Regions from separate parts of the Homo sapiens genome. Here region 1 is linked to region 2. Evidence: promoter capture Hi-C in 16 types of primary human blood cells and fetal thymus (Javierre and others, 2016). All regions are on one chromosome and are shown on one strand. The core of a region is centred on a gene start or on the middle of the fragment in contact, and the rest is flanking DNA. Distances in the headings are between cores, read along the strand shown. Region 1 has its middle 44 kb from the start of TRIM2. Region 2 holds the start of RNF175 (ring finger protein 175).

The links. Contacts are between HindIII fragments. The CHiCAGO score rates a contact against its expected background, and 5 or more counts as called.
Region 1: a fragment that was not itself captured here is called in contact with the fragment with the promoter of RNF175 in region 2 in 1 of 17 cell types (monocytes); the score reaches 5.2 in monocytes.

Annotation. Positions count from the first base shown.
Region 1 is chr4:153,157,989-153,163,194 of GRCh38, forward strand. It overlaps a transcript of TRIM2 not described here. Among named protein-coding and RNA genes, the nearest start is that of TRIM2, 44 kb to the right of the region's middle. The HindIII fragment of the contact is 747 bases long and covers 3,303-4,049 here.
Region 2 is chr4:153,756,908-153,762,249 of GRCh38, forward strand. RNF175 (ring finger protein 175) reads right to left here and starts at 3,117. Exons shown (of 9, transcript NM_173662.4): 1 at 2,890-3,117. The coding sequence starts at 2,955. The HindIII fragment of the contact is 8,763 bases long and covers 1-5,342 here.

The sequences.
Region 1 (5,206 bases), core at 2,426-4,925, 600 kb before region 2:
GGAGAATTTTGGCCTATGAGCTTGTCAGCCAGGGTTTACACAGTCAGTTTGTGTTTTTTCTTGAGGTAGTTTACCCGGTTGCCTCTCTATTCTAGAGCTTTCCTGTTGGCTCTTTCTTTTTGACAAATTGACTACTTAACGGAAGATCTACTTAAGTGTGTCCAGGGACAGAGAGAGAAGGTAAAACCCCAGTCTATTGCTTTGAACCTTGTTGTGGTGGTAGCAGAAAAATCAACGAAGGGGAAATTTCATACTGTTGGCTAAAATGCAACTATTCAATTCATCCCTGTCCTGATCAATAATTCTTATTATATGAAATTAGTAAGAATATTAGGAAAGCTCAATTATGCAATCCTATGAACTATAATTGGTTTGTAAAAACAATTTCATTGGAAATTTTATTTAAAGTAGATTATTTTGATCATTGTATAGTGGCAAATCAAAAAGTAAATTCTCCTCCTAAGGTATAGTGATATGTAATGGGCAACAAAAATGCAGGAAACTTTAAATCTGTTAAATAATCACTCTTGTTCCTACTGAGAATGAAAAAAAGCAAAGGAAGCATGTGACAATTTTAAAACATTAGCTCTTGCCATCATGTTTAGAAGAAAGATTTGCACAATTAAAAAAAAACAGATAAAAAATAAAACAAAGACAGTGTCAGGTGGAGTGCTAGACTGGCTAATCAAATGCTGGGACAAGTGGTGCGGATAGCCTGTTCTACACCAAGGCTAGAAGAGGGGAAACTGATATTCTTGGACACAATCAGGTTATGAGTGCTGGCTCTAGGGCTTTGAGCGGTGATCTAGAACTGGAAAGGTAAGCCGAGAAGGTGGAAATACTTTTCACCTAAAGGCAAACAGCTTGAGCAGTGGCTCAAAAGGCTGCAGGAGCATGGATTTGGCAACTCATTTGATATGGGGAGAAAGAAGACAGGCTTTCTTCTTGGAGACCGGTGGTTGGGGTTTGTATTTCAAAGGTGTGTGACCTTGAGCAATTTGCTTAAGATGCAGTGTCTCAATTTTCTTATCTGTAAATGAACAACTGAGCCATTGCAGGTTGTTCTAAGGATTAAAGAAAATTGATATAAAGTGTCCGGCACTGTTCATTGCATACAGATGATTAGTCTGTGATGAGTATTTTTTTCAGGACAAAGACATAAAACGGAACTGTATCTTACTTCAATATCAGAATGAGGACTTTGAACTTGTTCTCAAGACCATACGAAGCCACCCTATGGTGGCTTTAGGAAGTGAAAGCATTTTTATACCACTTTACATTAGAAGTTCATTGAGTTTTTACAAAATCTTTTTTTTTTTTTTTTTTTTTTGTAGAGACAGTATCTTACTCTGTTGTTGAGGCTGGAGTGCAGTGACATGAACATAGGTCACTGCTGCTTGGTTCTGGACTCAAGTGATCCTCTCGTGTCAACCTCCCAAGTAGCTGGGACCACAAGTGTGCACTACCACACCCGGCTAATTTTTTTAAATTATTTTTTGAAGAGACAGGGTCTCGCCATATTGTTCATGCTGGTCTTGAACTCCTGGGCTCAAGCGATCCTCCAGCTTCAGCCTCCCAAAGTGCTAGGATTACAGGCATGAGCCACACCAGCCTAAAAATTCTTATATGACCATTTGAATCTCTGCTTAGATTTTTTTTCTTCTCTCTTGTGCTTGTAACTCAAACTTTAATACTTGAAAAGATTCATGAAAATTTGAATATACTTTTCTAAATCTGTAAGAAGACTGTCTCCCAAGATGGTTTGTCAGTAAACCATGTGGTTTATGGTCAGCATTGTGTTATCTCCAGCCTTTCTGAAGAGCTAACAGTAGCTCCGAGTTTAATTATGTAATAAGCTATGCCTACTATTTGATGCCACGAGAAATAAACTTTGAAAAAATTCAGTACTTGAAAATATTTATCAAATACGTAGGATCGTCTATTTCCATTAGTATATTATTCTTGAACATTTTCCCACAACCCATTATTTTTAGCTATTTTAAGTAAGAGTTACAACTTTGCTATGCTTTTGGTTTGGTGATGAGTAATGTTTCCATTGTTATATCTCTATTTTACAACTTCCCTGAACTGTTTAGTGCAATTTTTAGAATATGAGTCAGTTACAATCTTTACACTGCAGTTTTGAACCATCTTTTTATGACCTTCTAAGCGAAATATTTCTCTGAAAATTTCCCCTGCTTTCCCTCTCCCCTTTCCTTAATTCCCTTAAGTTAGTCTTTGTTAAGCATTATAATTGAGTAGAGTAAGCTGTGTTATCTAACACTTTTCTACTGCTTTTACAAGCACAAAGATGAATCGGAGATTCAACAAAGCTTCAAGGTTCTAGAAATAAGCGCTTTTGAGACAGGCGAGCAAAAATCACCAATCTCATTAGCTTCTCCAAAGGAAACAAATAAGTCTTGTGAGCTACTACTGGGATTTTTAGAGTTTTCCAGGCCTCATTTTAAAGAGATGGGGACTCACTGTGTTGTCCAGGCTGATCTTGAACTCCTGGCCTCAAGGCATCCTCCCACTTCAGCCTCCCAAAGTGCTGGGATTATAGGCATGAGCCACCATGCTGGCCATCTAGGCTTCAAGGGATGTTTGTTTGTTTGTTTGTTTGGAGACAAGGTTCCCACCCTGTTGCCCAAGCTGGAGTACAGTAATGTGATCATGGCTCACTGCAGCCTCAACCTCTCAGGCTCAAGCGATCCTTATACTTCAGCCTCCCAAGTAGCTGGGACTATAGGCATGCACCACCACACCTGGCTAATTTTTAAAATTTATTTTTTTCATAGAGACAAGGGTCTCTGTATGTTGCCCGGGGCTGATCTCAAACTCCTGGGCCGAAGTGATCTGAGCCTCCTGCTTTAGCCTCCCGAAGTGCTGCAGTTACAGGCGTGAGCCACCATGCCTGGCCAGGCTTCATTTTTAAAAAGGGGAGGGGAGGGTTGGGAGCTAGCTCTCTGGCTCACAAACAATAATGACTTCAATTTCTGTTCTTTCAATTGATTTTTATGTTTCCCTGGGAGGGAGAGGAAGACTAGGCATGCTCATCTTGCCAAAGTGATTAACTCTTCATTGGCCAGCCTCTTTGGACACCCATTTACTGCTCATTCTCTAGTATTCTAAGGAACAAAGATTTTGTTGTACTTTAAACTAAAATAGCTTGTTTGTTCTAAGAACGTAATACTAAATTTTGAGATGGAGACTGTATTTATACAGAAACACTTTGCAAGCAAATGTTTATAACCAGCCCCTACTGCTTTTACAAGCACAGAGATGAATCAAATATACACAAAAGCTTTGTGCTAGAAAGAACCTCCATGAATTGAACGTACGTGCTATATGGTAGGCATCATTCTTGTCACTGTGCATGCATGATCCCATTCAGCCTTAACAGTTATCCTATGAAAAGTTATTATCCTCGTTTTAGAGATGAGAAAACTGAGACTTAGAGAGATTGAGTACATTTGCAAAGTCGCTAGCTGTTAAAAAGCAGGTGCAGGAGTTGGAGTCATGTCTGTCTGAATTTAAAGCCGTTGCTTTTCCTGATATACTCTGCATATGACATGATGCACAGCAGAATCCTTGGGAATATTCTGCTCCCCTTGGAGTTCCCTGCTTAGTGAGTGCTTCGTGCTCAAAGAACTCTCACAGACAACGCTAGTACACTTATTAGTTTTCTTTGTATCCTTTGGTTCTCACAGGCCAACTGCTACAAGGCAGGTCCAACAAATTTCCTAGATGACTGAATATTGGGCAGTATTCCAAGGTGGTCAATTATGTCTAAGACTCACACAAAAGCATTAGCAAGGATTGCTCCATGGATCAAGAGCAAATCAATGTACAATTGTCCTCTGCAGCTAACTTATTAGGGAACATAAAGTTGCAATATTTCACTGGAAACTTCCATCCACTAGAAAAAAATGAGTGCTTAAGCAAATATGGCCAGACTCTGATTATGATTAAGCATAAACCTCCGAAATGAAATTCGTGTGTACATTCTCTCTGCGTGGGACCAATTTGGCCAGCTTACTTTAAGGAAAAGCTTTCTGTTGTCTGCATTCTTGCCAAATTTCTAAACTTTCAAGGGTAAGGACTGTAGTTTTAACTCTTTATTCTGGCATTTAGTCATTTAGCTTACTGCTTGGCATATAGTACATCTTCAAGAAATACTTGTTTGGATTGAGTGTATCAGGGTTCTCCAGAAAAACAGAACCAGTGGGAAATATATACATATAGATATATAGATGATATAGATATAGATGATATGGATATTGATATATACAGAGATTTATTATAAGGAATTGGCTCATATGATTATGGAGATAGACAAGTCCAATCTGTAGGATGGGGCAGCATGCTAGAGACCCAAGGAAAGCCAGAGTTCCAATTCCAAGGCCTTCAGTCAGAAAGAGCTGATGCTTCAGCTGAAGTCCACAGACCATCTGCTGGAAAGTTCTCTCTTACACAGGAAAGCATTCATCCTTTTGTTCTAGTGACACCTGCATTAGTTAAATAAGATCCACCCACATTATGGAGGGCAATCTTCTTTACTGATGAAAACGCTAATCTCAGGCAAAAAGACCCCCATAGAAATACCCAGAATAATGTTTGACCAAATATCTGGGCACTGCATGGCTCAGGCACATAGACACATAAAATTAGCCATTACAATGAGTGAATGAGTAAATAAGAAACAGTAGTTTCTGAACTGTGGCAGAGCAAGTGGACTTCAGGCATTGGCCTCTGTTGTAGCCTTGAGTTATACCACACCTCAGTAATAGGAAGAGCTCTTCTTTCCAGTGAGGCAGCACCAACAGACTATAGGGCTTGAACCCAAGATGCCACCTGAGGGGAATTCTCATGTGGCCACTTGTGTCCAAGTGATCAGTTACCACTGAATTATGTGAATTAAAGAAACAGGTTGGGACATGGACCATGCTCTCCAGAACTGAGGGTGAAAAGGGTGTCTTTCTAAGAGGTAAGATTTTTTGGAAGTGGAATCCTATCATGTAAGACCCTAGTTTTTCTAAGAATTTGTGGGAAAAAAATAACCTTTACCTGAGTGTATGTAGCCACATTTGACTGCTTTGTTTAGTTGATTTAATGCAACTCAGTGGTTACTGTAAATATCTGAAACTTGTAGATTATTGCTTCTCTAAAATTATAATGGGATCCATTTCTAGATTTACATCATTTT
Region 2 (5,342 bases), core at 1,867-4,366:
TCTGAGGCCCTTGCCTTCGCTCTCTTCCCTCTTCAAACAGTAAGAGTGTTCCCATTAAAGGTAGACTGATCCTATTGTCTTCCTGCCTGAAATCCAACATGGCTCACAAGGCCTTGTATCCCATTTCAGCCTCCCCTCTCTCCACTGCCCCTGCACACCCTCTGCTCCAGCCAAGCAGAGCTTTCCTGTCCCTGAATGCTCTCCCTCCACTCCCAGCCTCCATGCTGGGTTGCCTCATTTCTGCTCACCCTTGGATCCCACTTACTCCAGGACACCCTTTCGGTGAGGCCCCTACCAGGATATATACTGACCTTGAACATTGTTACCAGACTGCATTGTTGATGACTTATTTACTTACCTGAATCTGTAGGTGGCCAGCGCTGGCCTCATCCCCCCACTGAATCCTCATGTCTGGTGCATGGCACACTCAATGTGTTTGGAGACTGCCACCCCGATTGGCTTTCATTATCTCTCACCTGAACTGCTGCCTCCAAACTGATTTTGTCACTTTCAACTCTTCCCTCACAAAACCCACCTGTTAGAAAAATCTTTCTAAACCAAGTAGCAAAGCCAGAACAATGAACTCAGAAACTAGTGATGACCCTGGACCACATGTGAGTGCCAGGTAGGAATGTTAGGTTTAGAGGGCTGTATTCATTGGTAAGGAATTCATGTCACAAGGCAAGGCTGCATGCCTGTGGGTGGAGAGGAGGGGCTGTGTATGGCCTGCCCCCAGGCAGAGAGCAGTTTTGGGGAAGTGGTGGGTCCTCTCAGCTCTCAGGAGAAATCCGAGCCTGGAAAGCAAGCCTTAGACAAGCAGAAGAGGGAACTCCTAAACCCATGGTCTCTGCTCTCACACTCCAAATTTTAGGAGTTTCAAACATACCTAACCAGTTGCAGGCTCAAAAGACCCCAGGGGTTGTAGCTGGGGAGGTGGAGGATGGGGAATAGGGAGATGGTGTTTGTCCAGTAAGGTATGCTGGAGTTAGGGTCTTACATCATAAGATTGTACGTTACTGTTCATTTATTCATTCAATAAATATTTATTGAGGCCCTGCCGTTTGCTGAGACTGTTCTAGGTCCTGGAAATACAGGAGCGAGCAAGGCAGACCACATGGCTTTTCTGCTGGAGCTTTCATGCTGAAGGAGGTTCTTAGACAATCAAATACACACATAGACATACTTCAGGTAGTGATAAGGGTGATGAAGGAAAATAAAATAGGGTGAGGTTCAAACCAAAGGGAAGCTATCAGATAATAGGCTGGTCAGTAACTATCTCTGTTTTCACTTTCTTATCCCTAGCTCTAGTAAAGTCAAGAAACCAGCACTTCTTGAACTTTGATGTGCAAATGAATCACCCTGGGATCTGGTTAAAATGCGGATTTCAATTCAGTGGGTCTGGCGTGGGAACTGAGACTGCATTTTTAACAGGCTCCCAGGTAATGCCTTGGCTGCTGGTTCCTGGACCACACTGTCTTGCCATATGGGATTAAGGGAAAAGCTGTGAGTCCCTCCTAGGGCAGCCTCAACAGAGAGGCCATACCTCCTGAGGGCAGCAGACTAGGCAGTGATGCCAGCCTTAAGGAAGAGCAAAGATCAGCAGCAAATCCACCAGTACTAGATCCTCTGACACTCCTGGCATGCATTCATCAATTCAGAACCTCCCTTTCGATAATCTGGGTTTGAAACCAGCAAGAAAGTCATGGAGTTTCATTTTAAGTTTCCCCATTTTGTGGTACACAAGCCCCTCCACAGCCTAGCCCACCCTTATTTTTTGCTATAAGCATTCCTGACCCCTAGGTTTCTGGCAGTCAGAGTGGACAGTCCCCTCTCTCTGCCTTGTCCCATGGCCATCCATCCCAATATTAAAAAAAAAAAAATCTCCAAGCCATTTGGTACTGTTGTTCCCTCCATCTAGAATTCTCTGGCCCATGAGGTCAGATCCTGTCCATTCCCCAACACCCAGCTCGAATGCCACGCCCTCACGGGTTGGAGGAGAAGGGGGTTAGTCAGGAGCAAGCCCTTCTCAGAAATCCTACAGTTCTTTGCCTGAACCTATTTTGGGACATTAATCTCTTCCTACCCGCTCTGTGAGTGATTTTTGTTGTTGTTTAAGAGTTATCTTTGCCCTTAAGAGTTATTTTTGTCCTCGTTTTACGGATGGGATTTGGGTTCCTCCAGGTAAGACCTACCCTCCTCCACCCCCAAATCCTCCTGGTACCTGGATGTAGCCTAAGAAGAATTGTCCTATGAACGAAGAATAAATTAAGATTGGGTTTGCAATTGACGCCAGCAGAAGCAGAAATGGGCTAGGTTGAGCACCAGGCAAGACAAGCTGACGATCAGGGTACACATCTTGAATCAGAAACCCTGGGCACAGACCAGCAGTCTGCGTGGTAACAGGCCCTCCGAGTGATTCTGATGACACTCGAGTTTGAGAACCAGGGCGGTCTAGCCAAAAGCCTGCAGTACACCCCTTCCCCTCTCTCGCAGCTTACGACCTTGACCCTGGGCTCTGGGGGCTTCCGCCGAGGAGGGAGGAGGGCACAGGCGGTCACAAAGGAGGGCGGGAGTGGAAGGGGTGAGCCTGGAAGAGAAAGTGCGAGGATGCGAGAAGAGGGATGGAGCGAAGGAAGAGGATCAGAAGGAGGAAAGGAAGGTAGCGGGGAGGGCACAGAAGTGGGGAGGGAGGGAGTGGAGGAGGGACTGGCACCCCGCACGGTGGCATCTTCCAGAAGGTCATGCGTCCGTCCCCACGTCTTTCCAGGGCCGGTTCTCCCCGGTGGGGCCCGGGGTCTTGGAGACCAGTCTGTGCAGCCTGCCCGGCACCAGCGTGAGCCCCGGGACCCCGGCCTGGCGTCCCCCACGCCCGCGCCCCCGCGCCAGTACCTGCTCCTGCTGCGGGGGGGCCTCCAGCACCGGCGCTGCCTTCCGCGCCGCCGTCCCCGCGGCCATGCCTGAGCCACTGTGCCTTCTCCAGGGCACAGCGCCTGCCGGGGAGGGTCCCGCAGAGTCCGCAGAAGGAGGCGCCGCGGGGCCTCGGGAGCCGAGGGTGAGAGCCGGATCTGCGGCGGCGGCGGAGCGGCGGCCCTGCCCGGGTTGTGCGGGGCGGGAGATGGGAGCCTCCCGGCACGCCCCGCCTCCGCCCCCTGCACGCTGGCCAGCGTCCTCCCCAGCAGCGGCCTCGAGGTCCCGGTCGCCAGCACCCCGGTTCCTTCAGAACCTCAGGCCTCCCATTCAGCCAGCCATTGTCGCCGATAAAGCGTCTTGAGCCCTACCGGGTGCGTGTGGCGGGAACCCCGGTTTTGTTACCGGGCGGCAGGACTGGAGGAGGGGTCAGAGGTGGGTAGGGAGAGAGAGGGGAGTAGAGGAGTGAGAAATGGCGGTGGGGGGGCGAGGGGTGCTGGGGAGGAAGAGAAGAGAGAGAGAGAGTTTCCTCTCCCTCAGAGGTGTTTATTAGGAGGCAGGAGTTCGGGTGGCTGTGCAGATACAGACTTTCCTCAGTTATCTGTGCTTCCTCCAAAGATGATGAAGGAGAGAAACTCCAATCTAGGGAGAGCGCAGACCATCTTGGCCCCTATGCTGCTCCAGGCCATGCAGGGCCCCTGCGACGCAAGCATCTTGCCTTTGCCCCTCTACCTCCAGGGTCTCCCCTCCCGCCTTTACAACTTAGGCCTAAGCCTGGCTTCAAGGTTGAGAACAAGCTGGAACGTTTAGGCAAGCCTTTAGAAATACCTGGGTGTTGATTTGGGGAAACAGAAAAGAGGAGCACAGAATTAGATGATGTGTCCTACGAAATACAGCTTACCCCTTTCCAGTTTGTGATGGCTCGTATTTGTCAACACCTACAAAGGAGGTGAACAGACCAAGATGGACATTTCTCTGCCATTGTGGAACGTAGAGCCTAACAGGGGATAGAGAAAAATAAGCATCTAAGTACAATTTATCACGGATGGTGCCTTGGTTTTCCAGCCTTAACTGGGCATCAGAATCCTATGGAGGAATGCTGAGTTTGTTAAAACTCAGAGTGCTGGCCAAGCACAGTGGCTGATGCCTTTAATCCCAGCACTTTGGGAGGACAGGGCGGGCGGATTGCTTGAACCTAGGAGTTTGAGACCAGCCTAGGCAACATGGTGAAGCCCCATCTCTATAAAATATACAAAAGTGAGCTGGGCGTGGTACACCTGTAGCCCCAGCTACTCAGGAGGTTGAGGCTGGAGGATCGCCGGAGCCCGGGAGGTTCAGGCTGCAGTAAGCCGTGATGGAACCACTGCACTTCTGCCTGGACAACAGAGCGAGACTCTATCAAAAAACAAAACAAAAATCTTCAGATTGCTGGAGTTGAGCCCTAGAGTTTTTAATATAGTAGGTCTAGGGTGGAGCCTGAGCATTTGTCTTTTGAACAAGTTTTCAGGTGCCGCTGGGGCTGTTACCTACATCTGAAGACTACCTTGTAGCATGATCAGAGTGTGTTGGAAAGAGTGTCTGAGATGGAGAGAACAGTGGATGCAAGGGCCGGAATGCTGGAGAAGGCATAATGAATTGGAGAAATAAAAATCATGGTTAACATTGATAGAATGCTTACCGTGTGCCAGGTGCCGTCCTGAGCACTCTACCTGTGTTAGCTCATTCAGTCTTCCTGACAATCCTGTGAGGTGGGCATTGTGACCGTCCGTGTTTTACACGGGAGAACACTGAAGCACAGAGAGGTCCAGAAGTTTGTTCAAGTTTTGAAGCTAATAGGTGGGGCAGTGGGAATTTGAACCCAGACAAAACTGACTTCATGGTCTGGGTTCTTAATCTCTCAAGGAAGTAGCTGCGAAGGTCAGCAAGGGCCAGATCCACATAAATCATATTAAACAGTTTGGACTGTAGCCTCAGGAGAATGAGAAGCCATTACCGAGTTTTAAGCAAGAAAATGACATTACCAGACTTGCCTTTTGGCTTCAAGAGTGGGGAAGAGGGCTATGACTATGACTCAAGACAGAGAGACCAGCCAGAAAGCTATTGCTGTAGTTTCAGCTCTAAGGATGACAGTGGCCTTGGTGGTGAGAGTGTGTGCGGGGACAGAGTGGAGGGGAGATGGAGAGATGTGTTTGGGGATGGGAGATCTAGGTAATAGAATCTACTGTACTTGACTCATCTCCAAGGATGGTGCCCAGGCATGTGGCTTGGGCAGTCTAGCATTTGGGCAGACAGTGCTGCCATTGCTGAGAATGGGAACATTGAAAGAGCAGCAGATTTGGGGACACAAAAATAGTGGGTTCATTTGGACATGTTACTTCTCTACCTATCTTGTGGCCTGCCTTCATGTGGCAAGAGCCATTTTTTCTCTCCAGCCC